Linked DNA regions of Homo sapiens: region 2 is linked to region 1. The links are contacts of gene promoters, found by promoter capture Hi-C in human tissues and cell types (Jung and others, 2019). All regions are on one chromosome and are shown on one strand. The core of a region is centred on a gene start or on the middle of the fragment in contact, and the rest is flanking DNA. Distances in the headings are between cores, read along the strand shown.

The links. Contacts are between HindIII fragments. The study calls those that stand out against the background at their distance.
Region 2: a contact is called between a fragment that was not itself captured here and the fragment with the promoter of APOBEC3C in region 1, in 2 of the 25 tissues and cell types used here (aorta and pancreas).

Annotation. Positions count from the first base shown.
Region 1 is chr22:39,012,111-39,018,454 of GRCh38, reverse strand. APOBEC3C (apolipoprotein B mRNA editing enzyme catalytic subunit 3C) reads right to left here and starts at 4,198. Exons shown (of 4, transcript NM_014508.3): 1 at 4,076-4,198; 2 at 2,704-2,860; 3 at 410-689; 4 at 1-186. The coding sequence starts at 4,092. The coding sequence ends at 68. RefSeq lists a silencer at 3,908-3,957 and enhancers at 4,068-4,177, 3,750-4,367, 4,097-4,391, 4,368-4,986. The HindIII fragment of the contact is 14,453 bases long and covers 1-6,344 here.
Region 2 is chr22:38,892,389-38,898,732 of GRCh38, reverse strand. The region is part of intron 1 of LOC105373032 (a long non-coding RNA gene); the gene reads right to left. Among named protein-coding and RNA genes, the nearest start is that of CBX6, 23 kb to the right of the region's middle. RefSeq lists an enhancer at 4,159-4,328. The HindIII fragment of the contact is 6,036 bases long and covers 1,063-6,344 here.

The DNA of each region.
Region 1 (6,344 bases), core at 2,949-5,448:
GAGGGGAGGCCCGTGCAGCATGAGCAGGAGGCTAGAGGAGACAGACCATGAGGCCCAGGGAGACCCCTCACTGGAGACTCTCCCGTAGCCTTCTTTTCAGAAGTCGAAAGTTGGTTTTTAATCCCTTCCAAGGCTTGAATGGCTCATTATCATTGTACACAAAGTTTTCCCAACAATATTTAAAATCTGAGAAAAAACAAGGAGAAAACAGTGAGGGCCCAGCAGGCCTCTCTCCTGGCCCTGGGCCCTCCCCTCCCAGCCCAGGTATCCAGGCTGCCAGTTGCAGTGGGCGCTGGCCCGGTCCCCACAGACACCCAGGGGACACTGACCCGCCCCACAGCATTGGAGAACCATCTGCCCCTCATGCTGTCCCTCCTGCACCCACTCTCCTCAGCCCCCCACGTCTCACCTTCATAGTCCATGATCTCCACAGCGACCCCTTCCTGACTCAGGCTGCGGAGCCCCTCCTGGTAACATGGATACTGGAAGTAGTAGAGGCGGGCGGTGAAGATGGTGAGATTCACGTTGCTGTGCCTGGCCAGGAACTCGGCCACCTCCCCTGCACAGTCTGGGCAAGGGCTCCAAGATGTGTACCAGGTGACCTGGTACTTTGTGTTAGGAGACAGTATGTCGTCGCAGAACCAAGAGAGGAAGCACCTTTCTGCATGACAATGGGTCTCAGAATCCACCTGGCGAAGGAGGAGGAGGAGGACAGGGGAGCTCAGACCAGGAGCAGGAGGAGTGCAGGGGTGGGGCGATGGGAGCAGAGGGCGGGCCTGGAGCCCCGGGCCGTTTCCTTATTTACTCATTTTTGAGACAGGGTCTCTCTCTGGTGCACAGGTTAGGGGGTGCAGTGGTGGGATCTGGGCTGACTGCAGCCTTGACCTCCCAGGCTCAAGGAATCTTCCCACCTCAGCCTCCTGATAAGCTGGGATGCAGGTGCATGCCGCCACACCTGCCTAATTTTTTAAATAATTTTTTTAGAGACGGGGTTTCACCATGTTGCCCAGGCTGATCTTGAACTCTTGGGCTCAAGCGATCCTCCTGCCTCACCCTCCCAAAGCTCTGGGACTATGAGCATAAACCACATGCACAGCCTTATTTTATTTCTTTACTTTTCATTTTTCTGGCTACATAGTAGGCCCCAGGGTGTTTTATTCATTGAGTTTCCCTTCTTCTATCCTTCTCCTTCTCTCTTTATTCTTTTATTTTTATTTTTTTCAAAGATGGAGTCTTGCTCTGTCGCCAAGGCTGGAGTGCAGTGGCACAATCTCGGCTCACTGCAACCTCTGCCTCCCAGGTTCAAGCAATTCTCCTGCCTCAGCCTCCTGAGTAGCTGGGACTACAGGCATGCACCCCCACACCTGGCTAATCTTTGTATTTTTAGTAGAGACTGGGTTTCATCATGTTAGCCAGGCTGGTCTCGAACTCCCAACCTCATGATCCGCCTGCCTCAGCCTCCCAAAGTGCTGGGATTACAGGCATGAGCCACCGCGCCGTGCCCGGCCCCTTCCTTCTTTATTTTATTGATTCTTTCCCTGTCTCATAGACTCATGTGTGAATTCTGCCATCTTTTCTCCCAGGCATCCATTCACCAGGCATCCTCAGCCCCTGCTATGGCCTGGCTCTCTGGGGTCAGCTTTGTTCCCTGCCTGCCTTCTGCTGAGGAATCAGGGCAGTGGCGGGGGCGGCCCCACCAGCCCGCAGTCACTGGCCCAGACACAGCGCTGGACACAACACCCCCCGCTTCCCACAGCTGCTGATTCCCGAGGACTGCCGGACGCACAGCTCCATAACAAGATTTTGGGAAACAAAGTCAAGAGTGAGGGTGCTGGGCGCTAAACAAGGCCTTTTGGGAGGAAGCAAACCCCCTCCACGATCTGATCACAGGAGAGTCAGGGAGGAAGATCTGGGCCATGGACTTAAAAAATGTGGGGAGGCCGGGCACAGTGGCTCATGCCTGTAATCCCAGCACTTTGGGAGGCCAAGGCGGGCGGATCATGAGGTCAGGAGATCGAGACCATCTTGGCTAACACCATGAAACCCCGTCTCTACTAAAAAAAAAAAAAAAAAGAAAAAAAGAAAAAATTAGCTGGGCATGGTGGTGGGCGCCTGTAGTCCCAGCTACTTGGGAGGCTGAGGCAGGAGAATGGCGTGAACCCGGGAGGCGGAGCTTGCAGTGAGCTGAGATTGTGCCACTGCACTCCAGCCTGGGCGATAGAGCAAGACTCCGTCTCAAAATAAATAAATAAATAAATAAATAATGTGGGGAGGAGGCCAGGGGCATGGTGTCTCACGCATGTAATCCTAGCACTTTGGGAGGCCAAGGCTGGTGGATCACTTGAGGTCAGGAGTTCGAAACCAGCCTGGCCAACATGGCAAAATCCTGTTTCTACTAAAAATACAAAAGAATTGGCTGGGCATGGTGGCAGGTGCCTGTAATCCCAGCTACTCGGGAGACTGAGGCAGGAGAATCGCGTGAACCTGGAAAGCAGAGGTTGCCGTGAGCTGAAATCAGACCACTGCATTCCAGCCTGGGTGACAGAGCGAGACTCCATCTCAAAAAAAAAAAAAAAAAAATAGAAATGTGGCAGGAAAGTGCACACAGGAGAGCCCACGCCGGGCACATCACTTATTGTTGCGTTTTCTGCATTCCCAGCTGCTTAGCTCCTATTTAGGGTGTAACTAGGACTTTGGTGCTACCTGGTTTCGGAAGACGCCCGTCTTCCAGGAGACAACTGAGCGGCGCTTTATACCTTCCACGGTGAAGCACAGCCAAGTTTCGTTCCGATCGTTGGCTTCCCATAGGTTTTTAAATTGGAAGTAGAATGTGCCTGGATACATTGCCTTCATCGGGTTTCTGAAGGCACAAGAGAGAAACCCCAATGCAGAGACCCCCGCACCGGAGTCCTCAGGGCTGATGCCCACTGAACACAGCTGCCTGGACGTCCCTGGGCTCTGGGCCTCCCCCATCCCTCCACAGCCCTGAGAATGTCTGCTGCTTTCCCAGGCAGGAAGACGGGGAGAGAGAAAGAGGAGGGGACGCTGGCAGGGGCAGCAGGGCCGGGGTGACCTCTCCTAGCTGGAACCCCAGCTCTGGGGCTACCAATGGAACACCCTCAACCTCCCAGTTTTTCTGCTACTTTTTTTTTTTTTTTTTTAAAGACGGCATCTCGCTCTGTCCCCCAGGCTGGAGTTTGCAATCTCAGCTCACTGCAACCTCCACCCCTCGGGTTCAAGGGATTCTCCTGCCTCAGCCTCCCAAGTAGCTGGGATTACAGACGCCCGCCAGCACCCCTGGCTAATTTTCTGTATTTTCAGTAGAGACGAGGTTTCACCATGTTAGTCAGGCTGGTCTCAAACTCCTGACCACAAGTGACCCGCCCGCCTCAGCCTCCCAAAGTGCTAGGATTACAGGCATAAGCCACCGTGCCTGGCCTAAAATAAGAGCATTTCTCCTGATCATCATATTTTTTCCTACACTCCATGTTGCAGGTGTCATTCTGAAAGGTGAACGGTGCTCACAGAGGAGGAGCCTGTGTCTGGGGTCGTGTGCATCCTACTCTGCTCACAGTGGAGGCATCTTTGGAAGAAGTGACTTATTTTCTGGTACAGAGACCATTCCCTCCCCCACACCCTCTCCTAAGACTTTGTATTGAAACAAAGTAAATCTTACAGAAATTGCACCAAAGCGCTGAGAACAAAATGCCTGATTGCTCAAATCATCCTTTGGTTCAATTCTCCCAGTTCCAGAGCTCCCAGGAATAGTGGGAAGCACACAGAGGAAGCACCCTCCCAGGGCGGGAAGCACCAGCCCGGGCATGATTTTCGGGGGAGAGTCTCAGCAGGCGGACTGGGCTGGGGCAAGTGGGGAAGGTGGCCCATTCAGAAGCAGCAGTCGTGGGACCACACAGCAGGGCAAGGAGCTTGGCTGGGAGTGGGGGCAGCGGGGGAACCAGGGGGGAGGGAGCCCAGAGGTGGGGCTGGGGCAGGGGGAGGCCAGGGCTGAGGCCCAGCAGGACCGCCTGGCAGGAAGTGGCAGGAGGGGCCTGGCGGACAAAGCGTGCAGAGGTACCTGATCTGTGGATTCATGTTCAGCCTCTTAGATATGCTTGTCCCTGTCCCACTCTTTTCTGAAGCGCTGTGGCTTCTCTTCCTGCTTACAGCGTCCTTGCAGTTGAGCAGCCCTCTTTAAAGTGACCTCCCAGGGCCTTGTGAATCATGGCCCCTCCCCATTCCTGCTCAGGCACTGGTGTGGGAGGCCCCGGGGTGCTTCATGTTTCTCTGGCTCTGGCCCTCTTTCTGGTTTTCTCCGGGCCCCTCCTACTGGCAGAGGAACCTCCGATAAAGACAGGCTGCTCTGTCTTTATCTGTCCTGGGCAGGACCCAACGGAACTGCAAAAAGAAGAGAAAGAGAAAGAGAAAGGCATTGCAGCCTGAGCCTGGGACGCGGGTCCAGACCCAGCTGAGAGAGGGGCAGGTGCCCCGTTGCCTGGTGGTTGGGCAGGCTGGAGCCCCCTCTCCACCACCCCCTCCCCAGCCCTAATGTGTGCCCAGAGCTTTGAGCAGCACCACCCTGTTGAGTGAGGGGAGGTTTTGAGACCCCAGTGGGGAAGGAAGTGTGGACTCCGCACAGCACAAGCGAAGGCTTAGGTGTGCCTCGAGTTCCCAGCTGTGTGCTGAGTCCATCGCACGCATCCCCTCTTCCAACCTCCCAGCTTCCAGAAGGTGGGGGGCAGTTCAGCCCCTCAGAGATGTGGGCGGAGGATTACCTAGGTGCTGAGGCAAGAGACTGAAGGCACAAACTGTTTCAGTATAATAAAGAATATACTTACAATAAGAATAGTTATAATACAAATTAGATACAGAGATGATCATGGACATTATCAATCATTAGTGTAGATATTATTAATCATTAGCTTTTAATATTACTCTTTATTGTATTACTAATATAACCAAGAAATAACCGGTGGGTATAGGGTCAGGTGCTGAAGGGCTGTTGTGAGAAGTGACCGAGAATGCAAGAGGTGAGCCCTCTGTCACACCCGCATAAGGGCTACTGGAGGGCTCCTTGGTCAGGCGGTAACGCCAGTGCCTAGGAAGGCATCGTTACTTAGCGGACCACGAAAGGGAGTCTCCCTTTTCTTGGAGGAGTCAGGGAACGCTCAGCTCCACCAGCTTCTTGTGGGAGGCTGGATAGTATCCAGGCCTGCCTGCAGCCATCCGGAGGCCTAAACCCCTCCCTGTGATGCTGTGCTTCAATGGTCACGCTCCTTGTCCACTTTCCTCCTGTACTCCTGGTCCCTCTTTGAAGTTCTCAGAAGATAGCGGTAGAAGAAATAGTGAAAGTCTTAAAGTCTTTGATCTTTCTGATAGGTGCATAGAAGAAAACGCTGACGTATACTGCCTTCCCTCTCTGCTTCGGCTACCTATAAGGGAAGGGCCCCCTGTCCTATGATCACGTGACTTGCTCGACCTTATCAATCACTTGGACGACTCACCCTCCTTACCCTGCCCCCCTTGTCTTGTATGCAATAAATAACAGTGCACGCAACCATTTGGGGCCACTACCCATCTCCGTGTCTTGATGGTAGTGGTCCCCCGGGCCCAGCTGTTTTCGCTTTATCTCTTTGTCTTGTGTCTTTACTTTTTACGATTTCTCATCTCCACACACGGGGAGAACACCCACTAAGCCCCATAGGGCCAGACCCTACATCAGGGACTGCGATGTCTGCGACATCAAGCGGTGGAAGCAAGTGTCTACAAACAGGCTCACGGCCCACAGGGACCTCTCAAGGGGTTCCGTGTGGACCAAGAAAATGTGAAACACATACACACACAACTTTCTGATTATTTAAGTTCATCTAAGCATATTTTGGAGGAATGAATGTACATTGTATCCTTGAAATAATCTTCCTAAATAGATTCCTTTAAGGGGAGTTTGTTCTTGTGGGGGAAAGAAAGAGAGATGAGACTGTTATTGTGTCTATGTAGAAAGAGGAAGACATAAGAAACTCCATTGTGATCTGTACTAAGAAAAACTCTTCTGCCTTGAGATGCTGTGAATCTGTAACCCTAGCCCCAACCCTGTGCTCGCAGAAACATGTGCTATATTGACTCAAGGTTTAATGGATTTAGGGCTGTGCAGGATGTGCCTTGGTAAAAATGTGTTTGCAGGCAATAAGCTTGGTAAAAGTCATCGCCATTCTCCAGTCTCGAGTACCCAGAGACACAGTGCACTGCGGAAGGCCGCAGGGACCTCTGCCCAAGAAAGCCTGGGTATTGTCCAGGTTTCCCCCCACTGAGACAGCCTGAGATATGGCCTCATGGGAAGGGAAAGACCT
Region 2 (6,344 bases), core at 2,831-5,330, 120 kb after region 1:
TGCACTCCAGCCTGGGCAACAAGAGTGAAACTACATCTCAAAAAACAAATAAATAATTTTAAAATAAAATTCCTCTAAGTGGGCCAGGAGTTCGAGACTAATCTGGCCAACGTGGTGAAACCCCATCTCTACTAAAAATACAAAAAAAATTAGCCAGGTGTGGTGGTGCACACTTGTAATCCCAGCTACTCAGGAGCCTGAGGCACGAGAGTCACTTGAACCTGGGAAGTGGAGGTTGCAGTGAGCCAAGATGGTGCCACTGTGCTCCAGCCTGGGCAAGAGAGGGAAATTCTGTCTCAAAACAAAAAAACAAAAAAACAAAAAAAAAAAACTTCTAAGTGTATGTGGAGGGGGTTAGGTAAAGATTCAAGATGGTTTTGGATTTAATAATACTACTTGGGAGAATAATTTGGATTTATAGCCTAAAACCCTGATGTTATCATACAAAATCTGATATATCAAGTTGATAAAGAAGTGTTATATGTGATTAAAAAGAAAAATATGTGTCTCCAGAAAGGGAGCAATGCAAGGTGAGGACAAACCAAACCAAAAATCTATACAATGTGAAGAGGAAGGCAGTAAACAGGGTAAAGTAGGATGGAAAGGAGACTTCTGTGAAGACACCTTGTTTTACAGTTTTCACTTTAAAATAAAACAAATTTTACATAAATACAAAATAAAATGAAATCAAAATAGAAAAAAATCCCTAAAAATTGAAAACAAATTTAAACAAGCTAAACTAAAATACATCAAGTTAGTAGCATAGACACATTAAAAAATTATTTCATGTTACTTTAAAACACAGTATTTTAAGTGTACATTCCTAGTGGAAAATATTCTAAAGACAATAAGAACTACATAGAAATGTTGAACTATATTCAGGGTCTTATTGTTAGTAGCAATTTTGAAATTTTTAATTTTGGAATACCTATAGGTATATTATAGGATAAGCCAAATAATACATACGTTTGCTCATTAAAAAAACAAAAGTTTCAGTTGAGTGCATTGGTGCACACCTATAGACTGGGAGGCTGAGGCAGGAGGATCGCTTGAGCCCAGGAGTTTGAGGCTGTAGTGTGCTACAATTGTGCCTGTAAACAGCCATTGCACCCTAGCCTGGGCAACATAGACCCCATCTCTAAAAACAAAACAAAACAAAAACCAAGATTTTCAGTGAAAGAAAAAAATATACAAGTATTAAACCAAATATTTTGAGTTAAACTCTTGTAATCATAAATTTGAATTGGAAATATCAGTATGAACTCATAACTCTTTTCTTTTAGAATGCACTCATTTCCTAATATGTGCACTGAAAATCCTGGAAGGCATGAAAACACACTAGTAATGATCACTCCTCAGTCCCCAGATTGTGGTCTCTAAGTATCATTTTCCCCTAAAGGAACTAGCGTTTCTTAACATAACAGCTGGTTCCAGGTCTGGGGCAGGAATTGTAAAAATTGCCTAGAATACGTTGTGTTAGACAAAAAGGAAGCTATCACAGACTGCTGGGATCACGTCAAAGGACACAGAAGCCAACTTGAAGGGTTCTTTGTTGTTTGGGTTTTTTCTTTTTACTAAGATGGGTCGATTTAACAGTAACCAAATAGTGCATGAGGGAAATTTCTTTATAGAAGAATTTCAGCTACTAAATGCAGAAAAATGTTAGGAAATCACTATTTTACAATCCCTAATGAAACCATGGATGTAGCCAATGATCACCAATGAACAACCAATCCGTTAAGTGAAAGATGAATAGGGAACTTCATAAGGAAGAGATTAGGCTGATAGCACCTGAAACCATTTATGAAAATTATCATTTAAAAAATGGAGACAACCAGACCTTACATGCTTTATGATGTGATGAAACAGGAAGTAAGAGCATCACTTGTGAATGTTCCTTCCTAAGTAAATAAATCTGAACCTAATTTAGCTAGCTAGACATACATACTGGTTAATAGGAAATACAGGGGATAGAAGAAGAAGGCACCACAAGGAAGCAATCAGCTAAATCCAGAATGTAGGACATGCCTCTCCAAAATGACCAGATTTTTAATAAATTGGTGGCATGGAAATAAAACAAGGTTCCCTATAGAATAAAAGAGACAAGGAACAGCAATAAAATGCAATATGTGGCCTTTGTTTGAATCCTGATCTGAAAAAAAAACCTGAAAAGATGCTTTTGAAACAGAAAAATTTGTATATGAACTGAATATTGAATGATAGAAACAATGTAATTATTAGACAGTGGTTATATAAAAACAAAATGTCTGAGTTAAAGATGCATAATGAAGTATTTACAGGTGAAATGACATGATATCTGAGATCTACTTTAAAATAATATAGAAAACAAAAAAAGAAAAATAAGGAAATAGATGAAACAAAATTGGCAAAATATTGATAATTGTTGGAGACATAATTGGTACATGGGTGTTCACTATATATATTATATATGTATTATATATATGTATTATATATAATATTACATATAATTATATATATAATATATATCATATATTATATATATACACACATATGTTTTTTTGAGACAAAGTCTCACTCTGTCACCAGGCTGGAGTGCAGTGGTATGATCTTGGCTCACTGCAACCTCCGCCCCCTGGGTTCAAGCAATTCTACTGCCTCAGCCTCCCGAGTAGCTGGGATTACAGGCACGCGCCACCACACCCAGCTAATTTTTTAAATTTTTAGTAGAGACAGGGTTTCACCATGTTTGCCAGGATGGTCTCCATCTCTGGACCTTGTGATCCACCCACCTTGGCCTTCCAAAGTGCTGAGATTACAGGTGTGAGCCACTGCACCCATATCACTATATTGTTTTTTACTTGTGTATAGATGTGAAATTTTCCATAATATAAAGTTTGCAAAGGAAGCAAAATAAACGTAAAATTTCTGTTACAGGTAAGATAAAATAGAGAAAAGAGATTGGTTAACATTAGAATGTATATGATAGTCCAGATGCAGTGGCTCATGCCTTTAGTCCCAACACTTTGGGAGGCCAAGGCAGGAGGATCACTTGAGCCCAGGAGTTCAAGGCTGCAATGTATATGATAAATTGCAGGGTAGTCATTGAGAGAATAAAAACAGAATATAAAACTTCCAAACCAACAAAGTGGAAAAACAGAAATAAGAGAAAAATCTTCATCTATTCAAAACAGTCCAAAAAAGAGCAAGTTATAAACAACAGGAAAAAAAATAAATGAGACAATAAGATGTAGTCATAAATTCATATATAGGTAATCATAATAAATTTGAATTAATTAAACTTTCCTGTTAAAAGGCAAGGATTTAATGGCATGCTGCAAATGTGATGCTCAAAGGGAAATTTCTAACACTAAATGCCTACATCAAAAAAGAAAGATTTCAAATCAATAACCTAATTTTATACCTTAAGGAATTAGAAAAAGAAGAGCAAATTAAACAGAAAGCTAGCAGAAAGAAGGAAATAATAAAAATAAAAGATTAACATGGAGAAAAATGAGACAGAGAGTAGAAAAACAACAGAGAAAATCAACAAAATCAAAAGTTGATATTTGAAAAAAAAAATCAACAAAATTAACAAAGCTTTAGCTAGACTAAGGAAAAAAGAAAAAATGCCAAAAACTAAAACCGCAAATGAAAGCGGGGACACTACTACCAACCTTACGGAAATAAAAAGGATTATGGGAGAATAGTACACCAACAAATTAGGTAACCGAGATGAAATGTACAAATTCCTAGAAACACACAAATTACCAAAACTGGTTTGAAAAGAAATAAAAAATCTGCACATAAATCTTACAAGTAAAGAGATTGCACCTGTACTAAAATGCTTCCCAACAACAAAAGTCCAGGATCAGCCGGGCACAGTGGCTCATGCCTGTAATCCCAGCACTTTGGGAGGCCAAGTTGGGCAGATTGCCTGAGGTCAGGAGTTTGAGACCAACCCGGCCAACGTAGTGAAACCCCGTCTCAACTAAAAATACAAAAAATACCTGGGCGTGGTGGTGCATGCCTGTAGTCCCAGCTACTCGGGTGGCTGAGGCAGGAGAATTGCTTGAACCCGGGAGGCAGAAGTTGCAGTGATCTTGCACTCCAGCCTGGGCGACAAGAGAGAAACTTCGTCTCCAAAAAAAGAAGAAAAAAAAGCACATATACATCTTTCAGTATTCAGAGGGGGGAAGAAACAGAAGGCTTCAAGGCAAAAAATAAATAAATAAAATAACTTGAGATAAAGTAAGTCACAACATAATGATCAACAAATATTTTTCGAGTGCCTACTGCACACCAGGCACTGTTCCAGGCAGTTCCACAATGAGAGAGAGTAATCATATTATCTGGAAGTTATGGCAGTTTTGTGTCTTCTGTCCCAATGTTGTATCCTTCATTCATTTTTCCTGGCCCTACTATACTTTAATGTTTAATAGAATGGTGAGAGTAAGTTTCCTTGGCTTGTTACTGATCTTAACATTTTAATATTTACTAAAGTCTTCACTGTGGGGAATTTTTAAAAAAATACATCTTTTATGGCTGAGCGTGGTAGCTCATGCCTGTAATCGCAGCACTCTGGGAGGACAAGCAGGCGGATCACCAGAGGTCAGGAGTTCAAGACCAGCCTAGGCAACATGGTGAAACGCTGTCTCTATTAAAAATACAAAAGTTAGCTGGGCGTAGGGGCGCACGCCTGTAATTCCCAGCTACTCAGGAGGTTGAGGCAGGAGAATCGCTTGAACTCAGGAGGCAGAGGTTGCAGTGAGCCAAGATTGCACCACTGCACTCCAGCCTGGGTGACAGAGCGAGACTCCATCTCATAAAATAAACAAATAAATAACAAAAAGACATCCTGTATTAGTTTAAAAGCGTTTCTTTATATTCTTAATTTGTTTAGTTTTTTAATCATAAATAGAGGTTGAATTTCAGCAAACACCTGTTCTGCATTTATTGAAATGATCCTATGGTTTTTCTCCTTCTATCTGTTAATGTGAAAAATTACGTACTTACTTTTCTAATCTATTCTAGTGTACTCTAATCCAATTTGGTCATGATGTATTATCTTGGATTCAGTTTACTGATGTTTTGTTTATGGAAAAGATTGTTCTATATTTTCCTTCCTCAAACAGTCTTTGGTTGGGATAACAAGCAGATTAAGCCAACTTTGTAAAAATTATTAGCAAGTATTGGTAATTTTTCTACTTGCTGGAATAGTTTGTATTTGAAAGTATTCATTCCTTAAATGTTTGGTAAAACCCTTCTGTTTAAAAAAAAAAGTCTAGTCCTGCTGTTTCTTTGATATGAAGATTTTTAGTCACCAATTCAATTTTTTAAATGGTTAAAACATCGTTTACATTTAAAATGTCTTAAATGTAAAATTTGTGCAACTTGATTTACATTTTCAAAATTATTGGCATAAAGTTGCATCATATTTTTACATTTTTAAAATTGATTCTTCATCGAAGTCATGTTTCCTTTCTTTATTTTTATTTAATTTTTTTGAGACGGAGTTTTGCTCTTGTTGCCCTGGCTGGAGTACAATGGTGCAATCTCGGCTCACTGCAACCTCCGTCTCCCAGGTTCAAGCGATTCTCCTGCCTCAGCCTCCCAAGTACCTGGGATTACAGGCATGCACCACCACGCCCGGCTAATTTTGTATTTTTAGGAGAGACAGGGTTTCTCCATGTTGGTCAGGCTGGTCTTGAACTCTCGACCTCAGGTGATCTGCCTGCCTCGGCCTCCCAAAGTGTCGGGATTACGGGCGTGAGCCACGGCGCCCAGCCAATTTCCTTTCAATTCTGCTATACTTTATGGGTCCCATCTCTATTTCCTAATTAGTCTTGCCAAAGGTTTGCCAGTTTTATTAGTTTTTTCAAAAAAACAAAATTTGGCTTTGTTCGTCATGTCAATTTTATGATTGCTCTCTGTTTCATTTATTTCTGCTCTTACCTGTAAATTTTCTTTTTTCTACTGTTTAGGATTTACTCAGCTGTTCTCTTGGTAACTTCTCATGTTAAATGTTTGGCTTATTGATTTTCAGCCTTTTTCTCCTATATCATAAGCCTCTCATATGTTCTGATACGTGGAATTTTCATTATTGTTCGCTTCTAAGCATATTCTAAAACCTGTTATGCTTTCTTTTTTTACCCATGAATTATTTAAAGGTTTTTCCTATTTCTATGCTTTTTTGTTATTTATTTCTTATTGAAGTACATGGTGGTCAGAAAATATTGTTTGTTCAATCCATCCTTTTGGCATTAACAAAAGATTGCTTTTTGGCAAGATAAATGGTCAATTTTCATAAATATTCCAGACGTGCTTGAAAGTAATGTAATGTCTGCAGTTACTTGGTGAAATGT